Linked DNA regions of Homo sapiens: regions 1 and 3 are each linked to region 2. Evidence: promoter capture Hi-C in human tissues and cell types (Jung and others, 2019). All regions are on one chromosome and are shown on one strand. The core of a region is centred on a gene start or on the middle of the fragment in contact, and the rest is flanking DNA. Distances in the headings are between cores, read along the strand shown. Region 1 holds the start of POU6F1 (POU class 6 homeobox 1). Region 2 holds the start of TMPRSS12 (transmembrane serine protease 12). Region 3 overlaps BIN2 (bridging integrator 2).

The links. Contacts are between HindIII fragments. The study calls those that stand out against the background at their distance.
Region 1: the fragment with the promoter of POU6F1 here is called in contact with the fragment with the promoter of TMPRSS12 in region 2 in 3 of the 25 tissues and cell types used here (adrenal gland, aorta and small bowel).
Region 3: a contact is called between a fragment that was not itself captured here and the fragment with the promoter of TMPRSS12 in region 2, in 3 of the 25 tissues and cell types used here (IMR-90 fibroblasts, lymphoblastoid cells and mesenchymal stem cells).

The regions. Positions count from the first base shown.
Region 1 is chr12:51,215,326-51,220,162 of GRCh38, reverse strand. It overlaps POU6F1 (POU class 6 homeobox 1), which reads left to right and starts at 2,101. Exons shown (of 11, transcript NM_001330422.2): 1 at 2,101-2,521. RefSeq lists an enhancer at 1,718-1,777 and silencers at 1,928-2,077, 2,278-2,437, 2,668-2,927. The HindIII fragment of the contact is 30,817 bases long and covers 1-4,837 here.
Region 2 is chr12:50,841,341-50,845,936 of GRCh38, reverse strand. It overlaps TMPRSS12 (transmembrane serine protease 12), which reads right to left and starts at 3,011. Exons shown (of 5, transcript NM_182559.3): 1 at 2,786-3,011; 2 at 1,900-2,095. The coding sequence starts at 2,972. It also overlaps the pseudogene RN7SL519P. The HindIII fragment of the contact is 10,446 bases long and covers 1-4,596 here.
Region 3 is chr12:51,283,837-51,288,312 of GRCh38, reverse strand. BIN2 (bridging integrator 2) reads left to right here. Exons shown (of 13, transcript NM_016293.4): 11 at 125-205; 12 at 3,526-3,597. Among named protein-coding and RNA genes, the nearest start is that of SMAGP, 16 kb to the right of the region's middle. The HindIII fragment of the contact is 4,435 bases long and covers 972-4,476 here.

The DNA of each region.
Region 1 (4,837 bases), core at 852-3,351, 380 kb before region 2:
ATATAGACATGTATATATGTATACACGTATCTATACACGTGTATATATGTATACACACACACGTACATATGTATACACACACATACACGTACATATGTACACACACATATACACGTACATATGTATACACACATATACACGTACATATGTATACACACATATACACGTACATATGTATACACACATACACGTACATATGTATACACACACATACACGTACATATGTATACACACACATACATACACGTACATATGTATACACACATACATACACGTACATATGTATACACACATACATACACGTACATATGTATATACATGTAAAAATTTATCAAGGTATACACATACTGTGTACATGTTATGCCCCAATAAACACAGAAACAAAAAGTAATATATGCTCATCAAATATTTAAGCAATGCAGAAGTGTATACAACATAAAGAAAACCGTGATTAACATTTTTATGTATGTCTCCCTGAACTCCTCTGATCACATCCATATTTCTTTCTTCAAACTGTCGCTGATATCCATGCTATCCAAAGCCTTTGATCTATGTGTAGCACCAAACCAAGTGACATAAATGAAAAGTTTCAACCTTCATGTGACAAAGTTCAGCAGCAATACTGAGCCCCTCCTTCACATAAAGAGTAGTGGGAAATACAAACATGAGTAAGTCACAACCAGTGCTCTCAAAGAATTCACAGTCCAGGGAGAGAAACTACAGGGACTACCGGCCAAACAAAAACCCCAAGAACTGTAATATCAAGCCACGCAGTAGAGTTTCACAGGGCCATTAAAACGAGTTCAAACTATTGTACAAGGAATGACACCTTACAGTTGTATAGAGCTTGCAGCTTTCAGTTTTTTCACATACAGGCTCACAAACTTAACCCTATGAAGTAGTCATTATAAATGTCATTATAAATATTATCCTTGTTTTATAAGTAATGAAGAAGTTAAATTACTTGCCTGGACGGCTAGTGGAAGAGTTGGGACTAAAACCTAAGTATTCTGACTCCTAATACATTGGTTACTCATAAATCCGCCGCCAGCAGTACCTGCTCACTTCCAGATGGAAACAGCAAGCTGATAACAGCCTAGTCCACTGGCCAGGTTAACGACGAGGCCGGGCCATTCAATGCCCTTCCACCACGAGGCCTTACGGAGCAGTCCCGGGGAGGACTGAGGCCTCCAACTGCATTCTCACACTGCCTCTAACCCATCTACCTCTAGCTATCCTCAGACCACCAAATATCGGGAGAGGGTGGGAGGGGGAACAGCCTAGGATGACAGCAGGTGGCCTCAGTATTGGGATCCACATTCACTGGATTTACAGAGCCTCCTTCCTTCCCAGTTCTTCTCTCCATTCCCACGCTTCCACTTTGGTCTTCCAACTTTTTCCTCTTTCAGTTGTCCACCACTTCTCCAATCTGCTTTCCCTCAGCCACCCACATCCACCCCTTTTCTGGTCCCCTCTCTACCTTAAGAAGCTGCTAGAGGTTTTTCACCATTCCACTGAACTTTGTCTTTCTGTTCACATTTCCTTGTCTACTTGGACAAGAAGGCCGGAAATCTGCTTTTAGACAACACAGCCCACGGCCGCCACCGGGTGAGAGACCTGGGACCCTTCGCTGCTTTGGCGCTGGGGCACAGCTGTTCAGAGGTTCTCCACGTTGGCTGAGCGATGTCTGAGTTCCCCCGCCTTTCTAGGGAGGGAGGGATAGACATAAACTTGACTTTCAACATTGAGGACAGTTGACTACCTAGAGGAAAGGCGGTGGCCGGGAGTCACCGCCCCAACCCTCAGCTGAAGGCCATGTGGCATGGAGGGTCCGGACTCCAGCTCCTACTCTGGCACCTTCCGAAATGAAACCACCTCCGCGGCACCTCGGAGGGGCTGAGTAACCAGACCCACTGACCGTCCATCCCTGTCCCGGGAGAGAGCCTCCGGGACCTCCCGCTCGGCCAGGGCCAGAGGGTCCCCTCCCCACCCCCACCCCTCGCTCCTGGCTCCCGTGCTCCCCTCCCTTCCCTGACCGCCCTCCCAGCCCGCCGCCCCCGGCGGCTGGCGCGGGCGGTGCAGCATGCGGCAAAGCTCTTTGCATAAATTATGCTCATGACGCAGCAGCTAAAAAAATCCAAGTAGCAGAAGGAGGGAAAAAAGGGGGGGAGGGAAAAGGGGGGGGTCGTGGAAGGGGGAACGAAGAAAAATATATACCTGACCGCCCCCCCACCCGGCTTCCCCTTCCCGCTTCCCGGCCGTCCCCTCTCCGCCCGGCTTAGCCTGCGGAGCCCCCTTCGGCTCTGCCCAGCCCAGGCTGGGGGCCTGGGGGCGGCGGCGGGTCCCGACCAGCTCCCGGGCCGAGCCGAGCCCAGCCAAGCCGCACTGGCTTCTTTGTCTGCGGGCGGCGGCCGCCGTGGCCCCGGCCCCGGCCCCGGCCCCCTGGCCCGGGCTGTGAGATGAATCTCTAATCGGTGGCCGCCAGACACCCGCGGCGAAGGCGGCTCGGGCTCGGGCTCCGGTAAGTAGCGGGGTCCGGGGCGGGGAGGGGTTTGCACGGAGGGGGAGGGGGCCGGGCAGGGGAGGTTTCGGGTTTGGTTAATATGCAATGCCCGTAATTAGCATAATTTATATATTTATGATAAAGAGAAAAAAAGCCGCGGGGCCGGGGCGGCGGGATGCTGGGCCGGGGCGGCGGGGAGCTGCGGGAGCGGGACAGCGCGCGGTTGCCCAGCTGGGGCTAGACACCCGGGGGCCGCGCCCTCGCCCGCCCGCGGGCCGCTCTGGACCTGGAGCGGAGGGGGCGGCCGCCAGGTGGACCCGGTGGGGAACCCCGACCTGGCCCCTCCCCGTTTCTGCCCCTGGAGCCCTTGTGGGGTGCGGACCACAGGGGACGCTCTGTACACAGAACCAGTGGCGACCAGAAGCGGATCCTTGCCTCTCTGGAGAACACGGACGCCTGGGTTCCCGGCGGTTAGGGCCAGCTGGGGCGGCCAGGGTGACCTGTCACGGTTCTCCCGAATGAACAAACTCCGGGACGACCGGTGGGACCCGGGGGTAGGGACCCAGGCGTTGCTGGAAGGGTGGGTCAGTGATGGGAGGGCCACCTTCTAGCAGAGCATGAGCACTTCATAAATATTTAATATCGATATTATTATTAATAAATAGTCATAATAATGGGCCCGATGCAGGCTCCCTGGGCAGGCTCACCTGGCAAGGCCAAGGGAGCTCCCAGCATACCCTCTAACCTCCACTTTCGCGGCAGAATACCCCACTCAGCCCGACTGGAAGCCTAAAACCTTCACAGAATAGCCTCTGCGGCTGGGCAGGGGGAAATCAGAAGAGTTCGGGAAGCATTCCTGGGCCAAAGAAAAGAGGCTCTTTGCAGAGATTTTTAACCTCATCTGCCCTTCCCAAATTCCTTGTTCCAAAAGTAGAGGGCTGGTCTTCAATTGTTCATATACATGTGTCCCATGCCCCTTATTTAGCAATCTAAGGCAGCCACCATTGACTGGCAGAGGCCTTCTGAGGAATAATTCCATATATTCCATTTTCATTCAAGTCCTGGTCCTCAAAGTGATACTTCTGTGACCTGGTACTCCGCTTATCTGCTGTAGAACTTCATTTCTTCATTAGTTCAACAAAAATACCCACTCAGTGCCATGCTCTGAACAATTCAGACAAAACTTCTATCATGGAGTTTTTATTCTGGGGGTGGACAAGTAGATGCTAAACATTAAAACTAACAAGGTAATACCATAGAGTGATTGTGTGTCAGTGTGTGTGTATGTAGCCATTTATTCTGTTTTGTTCCTGGAAGTACTAGCTGGCAGTTAAGAAAAGTGACTCAGAAAAAATTTGCTCCTGTAAGGTTTTTCTGCATTTTGAAGGAACTTGGGATAAGCTCATATTCTTGTCCCCAAGATTTACTCACCATAAAATTATCAGAGTAATCTTTTACATTTTCTTTTTTTTGAGACAGAGTCTAGCTGATTTTTTTGTATCTTAGTAGAGATGGGGTTTCACCGTGTTGCCCAGGCTGGTCTCGAACTCCTTAGCTCAGGCAATCCAACCGTCTTGGCCTCCCAAAGTGCTGGGATTACAGGCGTGAGCCACCGTGCCTGGCCATCTTTTACATTTTTAAAATGCTTTATAATTTAAAACATTTTTATATGCATGCTTTACTTCAGTTCAAAATAATAGCAATGATAATAACAAACATATATATAGTGTTTGCTTCATGCTAGGCCCTGTTTTAAGTGCCTTCCATAAATATTATCAATTTAATCCTCACAATAACCCATGAGGTGGTTACTATAATTTGGTTCCATTTTGGATAAGGAAACGGAGGCTTATAGGGATTACCTCTAGTAGAAGCAGTACTCAAGCTGGGTCTTCTGCCTTTAAACCTGCCTTTGACCCCTCATGTCAAAATGAGGGTTCATGAGGCAGAAGAGAGAGTGGGATGCAGGAGAAACTGGCCACAGGAGGAAGGCTTGGAATGAGAAATTAGACGGGCGCTTTAGGAAGGGGCCAGTGTGGTCTGGGTTCTCCAGAACCCAATACTACACCTTGGAAATCTCTCTTTTTTTTTTTTTTTTTTTTTTGAGACAGGGTTTCACTCTGTCGCTCAGTCTGGAGTGCAGTGGCGCGATCTTGGTCTCACTGCAACCTCCACCTCCCGGGTTCAAGCAATTCTCCCACCTCGGCCTCCCAACTAGCTGGAACTATAGGCGCACACCACCATGCCTGGCTAATTTTTGTATTTTCAGTAGAGACGGGGTTTCACCATGTTGGCCAAGCTGGTCTTGAACTTCTGACCTCAAGTAATCCGCCC
Region 2 (4,596 bases), core at 1,762-4,261:
AGAAGATATACAAATGGCCAATAAGCACATAGAAAGATGCCTAACATCACTAGTAATTTGGGAAATGGAAATAAAAGCCACAATGAGCTACCATTTCATATTAATTAGGATAGTTATTATCAAAGTAGTAGTGTAAATATAAGTATGATAAGTCATAAGCTAGGAATATAGAGACTGATATTCTGGATGTACTTTTAATCAGTAGGGAGGGTGGAGGGACAGAAGAAGCAAATGTAAGATACTGCACAGAGAGCCTTCACAGGCCTTGGAGACTACTTGGATAGCTGAAGTGGGAGAAATTAGATAACTCTCTGGGTAATGGAGCTGTTGATGATGCTATCAACTGAGAAAATAGAGAAGAAATAGTATCAGAGGAAAGTAAATTCCATTTTGGACTTATTTAAAATGTGACTCCAATAAAGCTGGAAATATGACTCATCAGGAGAGACCTAGGAGTTGACAGCACATGGTGATTGCTGAAACAGAGGTAGATTAGACATCTCTAGGAAAGAGTACAGAATGACAGAGGGCAGAGGGCAAACTCTAGAAAACACTGCAATGTAAAGGATGACAAAGACTCATCAAAGAAGCAGGAGAAAAAAGTAGAGAATGGTGTCTTAGAAATCAAGAAAAGAGATAATTTCAAGAAGAGAATGTGGTCAACATTGCCAAAGGCTGTAGAGGTCAAAAAGGATGGGAACTGAGATGAAGTCATTGGATTTGGCATGGAAGTGGATCTTTAACAGCATTTGGCCACAAAAATCAGACTGCAGTTGGATTTTATGGGTCAATGGAGATGAAGCAAAGAGAGTCTCTTTTTCAAAGAGTCTAATAGTGAAGGCCAAATCTGGCATGTCTCTTGTTTTCATACAGTCCATAAAGCATGTTTTTTACATTAACAATTTTTTTAAATATAGAGACAGGGTCTCGCTATATTTCCCAGGCTGGTCTCAAACTCCTGGCCTCAAGTGATCCTCCCGTCTTGGCTTCCCAAAGCATTGGGATAACAAATATGAGCCAACATGCCCTACTCTACATTTTTAAATGGCTGAATCAACCACAATATTTCATGACACGTTAAACATATGAAATTCAGATTTCAGTGTTCATAAAGTTTTATTGGATTATAGCCACACTCATTCAATTACTTATTTTCAGTGCTGGTTTTCATGCAATTGTGAGAGAGACCATATGACCTTCAAAGTGTAAAATATTTACTACCTTTATAGGAAGTTTACCAGCCTCTAATTTAAAAGATCCATGATCGAGCATGGTGGCTTACACCTGTAATCCCAGAACTTTGGGAGGCTGAGGCGGGCAGATCACGTGAGGTTAAGAGTTCAAGACCAGCCTGGCCAACATGGTGAAACCCCCTTTTCTACTAAAAATACAAAAATTAGCTGGACATGATGGCAGGCATCTGTAATTCCAGCTACTCCGGGGGCTGAGGCAGAAGAATCGCATGAACCCAGGAGGCGGAGGTTGCAGTGAGCCAAGATTGCACCACTGCACTCCAGCCTGGGTAACAGAGTGACACTCCATTTCAAAAAAAAAAAAGTAAAAAATAAAGGATTCCTGGGTAGGGGGCTAGGGGAGGGATAGCATTAAGAGAAATACCTAATGTAGTTAGATGATGGGTTGATGGGTGCAGCAAACCACCATGGACATGTATACCTATGTAACAAACCTGCACGTTCTGCACATGTACCCCAGAACTTAAAGTATAATAATAATAATAATAAATAAAGGATTCCTTTCAACAAATACACTGTACTATATATAAGGCATTATGGCTATTTGCAAACATAGCTTAGCTGAAAATGGCTGAAGTTAAATGGTCCTCTATCACTTCAAAATATCCCCTAAGAGCATAAAAATAGTTGTGTTCTGAATACGTACCTAGCGTCTTTAGTGCAGTGGGCAGCTGTGAGGACCCACCTCTCTCTCACTAGGGTTCCCCCACATACATGAACAAGAACACGGCCATATTTAATCTGCAGGCTCACCACCCACGGCCATGCGCCAGCTTGTGCTTCGGTGCCCCCTATAATCCGAGACCCTTGCAACACATCCTTAAGCGGTGCTGTTCCACAATCTAAAAATAAAAATGATATATTATTTGGACTGAGCATCTATAGTATGTGTTACTTCCTAAGCTGAACATATTAATGCAATCCTTTAAATTCCTATGTTAAAAACACAAAGCAAGCTAACATACCGGAGACACGCCCATATTTTGAAAGAAACTTGGAGAGTTAAGACAAATATGCCATAATCGATTACTTACAAATAGACATGAAGTCAACACAATTCATTAATTTTAAAACTCTATTCCCCAAAAATATAAAAATAAAAATTTTTGGCCACGTATCACATTCTTCCCTGTGTGAAATAGCAGTTAAAGAGCCTGGGAACGGTGAGTCGAGAGCCGCAAATTCTAATGCTCACCATTTCACTTGTTGGGCTAATTTTTCTCAACTATAGTATGAAATGGTCACCTAATAGCCCTCCCTTTCAACTCTTTATCCCCTGACTTATTAATCTATAAAATGGGGATGATAAAACCCAGAATGTTTTGAGGAGAAAATACAGATTCACAATACAAATGTGTCATTTCACTATTACAACTACTGTTATTACAGCCGGTCTAGAAACTGCTTAGGTATGTAAAATTTTGGTTAAAGGCCATTGGGACAACAGAAAAGGAGAAACCCGAATTCAAAGACTATAGCGGTGGGGAAAAGGTAAGAGAGGCTCCCCAGAGACAGGCACGAACAGGTACTGCCCTCTGCATGCGCCCCTCCCTCCCTCCGCCGCCGGAGCCTCTTGCGGACGGCCTCAGCCTGCTGGGAACTAGCCGCCGGTTCCGGCGAGGGGCCGAGCCTGTGCCTTCCAGAGGGCGAGTAGTGGTCTGAGTATAAGTGAGAGCTCCCCACAAACAACAGCGCCACGCTCAGGAGCCCCAGCCGCATTTTGGAGGCTGGTGAGCAAGATGGCGGCAGGTACTTCCCACCCGCCCTGGGCACGCGGGGCGCACGGCCTGGCGGGGAGGCGCGAGTGAGGCCCGGAGGTGTGGGAGGCGGCCGAGGAATAGGTAGGTCAGTTTAGAAAGAACCCCTCACCCTCAAGGTCTGATCGGCTTCCTCATCCACCACTATCCCCCAGGTGATGTCTGATCACCCTGGCCTGTCCAGCAAGAATCCTGTTAGGTCGGTTAGCCGGAATGCCATTACTCCTGATGCTACCTCTTAGTAATTTTCCATCCACTGACACGTCTCTCCTGCTCCGTGGCTGTAAATTCTCCCTTGGCTCTGCTCTGTTTGGATTTTAGCCCAGTCCCTCTACCCATTACAAAATCCCATTGCCATGGTCCCTATCCCTATCTGGATGGTCCTGAATAAAGTCTGCCTTGCTGTGCTTTAATGAGTATCACTGAATAATTTTTCTTTAACATAACCCAGAGTTTTTAAGAGTGATACCTAATGTTCAGTTTTAAATTGTTCTGTCATTCCTATCTTGACCTATACTGAACTTTGCCTTTGTTAACCCAACACCTTCAGTAATAAGAAGACCGTGTGGGCTGTGGGAAGTTGGTGAGGTGGTGGAGAGTTAACGTAGAGGTCAATAAAAGGACAGTTGCCTTGCTCATACCATCCTTCCGAGGCTGGTGCAGTTGGCAGCATTAGATAAAAGGAGTATATGAGTTTGGGGCTTACACATGGTAACATGTGGGGAAGGGAGCAGAGTCTCAGAGCTGTGCCGAAATTGGGGTGGAGGAGGTGATATTGGAGAAACAAATTGCAGCATGAGCTGATCTCTGAGGGCTGACAAGAAACAAAGTCCTTATTCCCCAGATATTTTAGTGGAAGGTGATATTAGGAGGAGAAAAACACAGTTGGGGTGTGTGTATTTCTGTGTGTGTGAGATGTGGTCAGATTGTGTATGCCTTTGTAAACAAGGCAAGATGACTTTTTTTTTCTTTTTTTAAACCCATAGCCAACGTGATAAGGATGACGGGTCTTGCTATGACAGATAGTAGAGGTTTAACATACTCATAAAGCAAGTATATGCAGCCAAGTCATCAAATAGCAGTGACACAGGCAGTGGGCTGGGCACGGTGGCACATGCCTGTAGTTCTATTATACAGCACTGCTTTAAACAATATATTTTTTAGTTTTACTACTCAGGAGGCTGAGGCAGGAGGATTGCTTGAGCCCAGGAGTTCTGGACTGTAGTATGCTATGTCAACTGGTCAACTAAGTTTGGCATCAATATGGTGACCTTCGGGTAGTGGGGAACCACCAGGTTGCCTAAGGAGGGGTAACTGGCCCAGACTGGAAATGGAGTTGATCAAAATTCCTGTGTTGATTGGTAGTGAGATCATGCCTGTGAATAGCCACAGTACTCCAGCCTGGGCAACAAAGCAAGACCCCATCTCTCCAAATAAAATGAAAAAGGCAGTGGATCAATAACTGCAGAGGTCTTCTTCCTGGATTTCCTCTGCCTTTTCTCCTCTCCTGCATTGTCATTTCCTGTCTTTGGTGGGATCACTCCTATCTGCAGACAAATATCCTCTGGTATGGTAGGTAGCCTACA
Region 3 (4,476 bases), core at 1,940-4,439, 440 kb before region 2:
TGACCAAGGCTACCTCGGGAGCCTCCTGATATCTGAGAGGAGCTAATATGGACCAAGGGCACAGGGATGGCCCCCAGGTGGAAGGTGTGGGACTCTCTCCTCCATTGTTCACTTTGATTCACAGGTTGCTTCAGAGCCTGGAGAGGCAAAGAAGATGGAAGACAAGGAAAAGGATAATAAGCTTATCTCAGCTAACTCCTCGGAGGTACTAAAAGCCTAAGTCATCTACATGATGATGCCCTATTTTTTTGTACATTAAAATTTATTTTTCTTTTTCCAGAAGTATATCTTTCAGAGGCCTTCAGTCTTGATTCACATGAAGCACTGAGGGCCCTAACAGAGCAAGATGTAAAACTTGTCCTGGCCGGGCGCGGTGGCTCATGCCTGTAATCCCAGCACTTTGGGAGGCAGAGGCGGGCGGATTCCCAGGTCAGGAGATCGAGATCATCCTGGCTAACACGGTGAAACCCCGTCTCTACTAAAAATACAAAAAATTAGCCGGGTGTGGTGGCGGGTGCCTGTATTCCCAGCTACTCGGGAGGCTGAGGCAGGAGAATGGCATGAACCCGGGAGGTGGAGCTTGCAGTGAGCCGAGATTGCGCCACTGCACTCCAGCCTGGGTGACAGAGCGAGACTCCGTCTCAAAAAGAAAAAAAAAAAAAACTTTTCCTAGGCCGGGTGCAGTGGCTTACGCCTGTAATCCCAGCAGTTTGGGAGGCCGAGGTGGGCGGATCACCTGAGGTCAGGAGTTCGAGAGTTTGAGACCAGCCTGGTCAACATGGTGAAACCCCATTTCTACTAAAAATACAAAAATTAGCCGGGCATGGTGGCATGTGCCTGAAATCCCAGCTACTGAGGAGGCTGAGGCAGGAGAATTGCTTGAACCCAGAAGGCGGAGGTTGCAGTGAGCCGAGATCTCGCCATCGCATTCCAGCCTGGGCAACAAGAGTGAAACTCTGTCTCAAAAAAAAAAACAAAAAAAAACAACTTTTCCTTAAGTCAGGCTCACTGATGCAAGCCTGTAATCCCAGCTACTCAGGATGCTGAGGCGGGAGGATCACTTGAGCCCAGGTGTTCGACACTGTAGTATGCTACGATCACACCTGTGAATAGCCACTGCACTCCAGCTTGGGCAACATAGTGAGATCCCATCTCTTTAAAAAAAATTTAATAAAAAGATTTGGGTGCAGTGCCTCAACCTCCCAAGGTGGCTGTAATCCTAGCACTTTGTTGGGGGCTGAGGCAGGTGGATCACTTGACCCCAGGAGTCTAAGATCAGCCTGGGCAACATAGGAAAAACCCATCTCTACAAAAAATACAAAAATTAGCCAGGCGTAGTGTCACATGCCTGTGGCCCCAGCTACTTGGGAAGCTGAGGTGGGATCACCTGAGCCCAGGGAGGTCAAGGGTACAGTGAGCCATGATCACGCCACTGCACTCCAGCCTGGGCAACAGAGTGAGACCCCATCTCAAAAAAAGATTTTTTAAATAATAAAAATGACTTTTCCTTGGTCAGTTTCTAGTCTGAGGCAGCTGTGCTGATGGAGAGAGATAGGCAGGACATGTGGAGAGTGAATAAGTGCAGGATAGATGCGGGGTTTTGAGTAGGTAAGCATAGCCACTTCTCATTTTTCTGCACTGAAAAGAGCAACTCAATGGTTGAATTGATTTCAATTTGATTTTATAATGTATTATATGATTTTAGATGGAGACAGTAATAGAGTGACTTTTTGATTGCCTCTGGGGAATGATAAAACAAGCTTGCATTCTTGGAGTCATCTTTTTGAAGGGAGGAGTTTATAGGAGCCAAGACTCTTTCTGACCATTTTAAGAAACAGGCTAGTAACACTGTCCTCCCTGGAAAAGAGGTACAGGATACACTCTCCTTCCGCCTGAGTCTGTCTCCTTATATTTTAGATTTATAATATTTCCTTACTCTTAGCCTCTCTGGTGGGATTGCTTTGGTCATCAGCTAAGGAGAAATATTTTTCCTGTAGAATTAAGCAACTAGAGCATCTTAGATCCTAGCCTATTCGTGTCATCAATCCTCTGAAGCCTGTGTATGCTCACTTCCCTTGCAGATGCATTATAAATCATATTTTCTCTCAGGCAGAATTATGGACATGTCACATGTAAAAATGGGTAAATATAAATATAACTGGGAAAAAACATAGCCATTTTTGAAAAAAAATTACTGGGAAAAAATCTGTTCTTGCTTACCATTTGAATCATCTCAGAGAGATGGAAGGTTTTGATAACTTTCCGGGAGGTGATGTAACATCACCTCTGAGCTAATTCATGACCTGGAAAGGGAGGAGGGAGTAAAAAGAAAGAAAATGTCCTTGAAGGAGAAATCTTGGAATTTCAAGTGGCTATCACACTGTTAGAAATTGGTTCTGTTGGCCAGGTGCCATGGCTCACACCTGTAATCCCAACACTTTGGGAGGCTGAGGGGAGTGGATCACTTGAGGTTGGGAGGTTGAGACCAGCCTTGCTAACATAGTGAAGCCTCATCTCTACTAAAAGTCAGGCATGGTGGTGGGCGCCTGTAATCCCAGCTACTTGGGAGACTGAGGCAGGAGAATCGCTTGAACCTGGGAGGTGGAGGTTGCAGTGAACCAAGATCACGCCACTGCACTCCAGCCTGGGTGACAGAGCCAGATTCCTTCTCAAAAAAAAAAAAAAAGAAAGAAAGAAAAAATTAAAAAGAAATTGGTTCTGTTTTTAAAATATGAATTTATAGTTTGTAAATTAAATTTCATGTTTTAAAAACTTATTTTAAACCTCACAGGGTCTTCCCCTAGCATAGCAGTTTCTAGGCAGGGCTTTCTTTCTTTTTTTTAAAATTTATATTTTTAGAGATGATCTCACTATGTTGCCCAGGCTGGAGTGCAGTGGGTATTCACAGGTGCAATCATAGTGCACTGCAACCTTGATACTCCTGGCCTCAAGTGATCCTCCTGCCTCAGCCTCTCAAGGAGCTGGGACTACAGGTGTGCACCCCTGCACGTGGTCTAGACTGGGCTTCCTACACCTTGGGTTCCCATCTCAGAACCTAAAATTTTTCCCAAAGAAATTATTTTACCACTTGCTTCTCCTAACTGCGTGTCATGAATTAGGATCACTTAAGTGTGAGAGTTGCAGTACATTCTTGAGGACGGTTCATCTAAAAGTGGCAGGTAGTAATTTTAAGACCTCGCACTCCCTTATAGATACACATCCACACCATGTCACACAGATTACATGGTGTTTGATCATGGAAACAACTCAGGAATTCAAAGACCTGGTTTCCTGTCCCAGCAAGTCTTTTTACCCTTTGAATCTTAGTTTATTCATCTGTAAAAGAGGATGGATGAAAGCCTTTCCCGATGCCTTCAGGCTCTGGTGAAACAACACTGTATTTTGCCCTTTGTAATAGTACAAATACTGAGACCCTTGTAAAGTATAAGGCACAGAAGACACTTCTATGCTGAGAGGCTGGAAAGGTTGAGCCACCTCTTACTGGCAGAACTCTTCTCTTTGTAGGGCCAAGACCAGCTTCAAGTCTCCATGGTACCAGAAAACAACAACCTCACAGCACCTGAACCTCAAGAAGAGGTAAGACCAGATATACAGAGAATAGATTGGGCATTAGATTGACAGGGGTTTGGGAAAAGGCTGGAATCTTCACCACAGGCTACAAGGGGAATCCGGCAGTGAACCATACCCTTAGGGCAGTCAAGCAGGTGGGAATCAGAGGAAACAAGAATGAACTGGGACTTCGTGGTATCTCCGTGCCCATTTTCCTATACTTGACCTTAAACTGGCCCTATCTTCTAGGTATTTATTTAATTAAATCTCAAATTATTTCAAAAAGGAGTTAAAGAGGTTAAGATATTTTTTTTAAATGCAAAAAGGTCATATTATACAGTAATGTGTTGCTCAACAACAAGGATATGCTCTGAGAAATGCATTATTAGACGATTTTGTCATTATGTGTGGCTGTATGGTATAGCCTATTGCTTCTAGGCTGCAAACCTATACAGCATGTTACTTTACTGAATTCTGTAGGCAGCTGTGACACAGTGGTTAATATTTGTGTATCTAAACATAGAAAAGTACAGTAAAAATAGCATATAGAAAATAAAAAGTGATACACTTGTATAGGGCACTATCATGAGTGGAGCTTGCAGGAGTGGAAGCTTCTCTGGGTGAGTCAGTGAGTGAGTGGTGAGTGAATGTGAAGGCCTAGGACATTACTTACACTCCTATAGACTATAAACACTGTACACTTAGGCTACACCATTAAAAAATATTTTTCTTTTCTTTTTTTTTTTTTTGAGACGGAGTTTCACTCTTGTTGCCCAGGTTGGAGTGCAATGGCATGATCTCGGCTCACCGCAGCCTTGGCCTCTGGGTTCAAGCAATTCTCCTGCCTCAGCCTCCTGAGTAGCTGGGATTACAGGCATGCGCCACCACGCCCAGCTAATTTTGTAC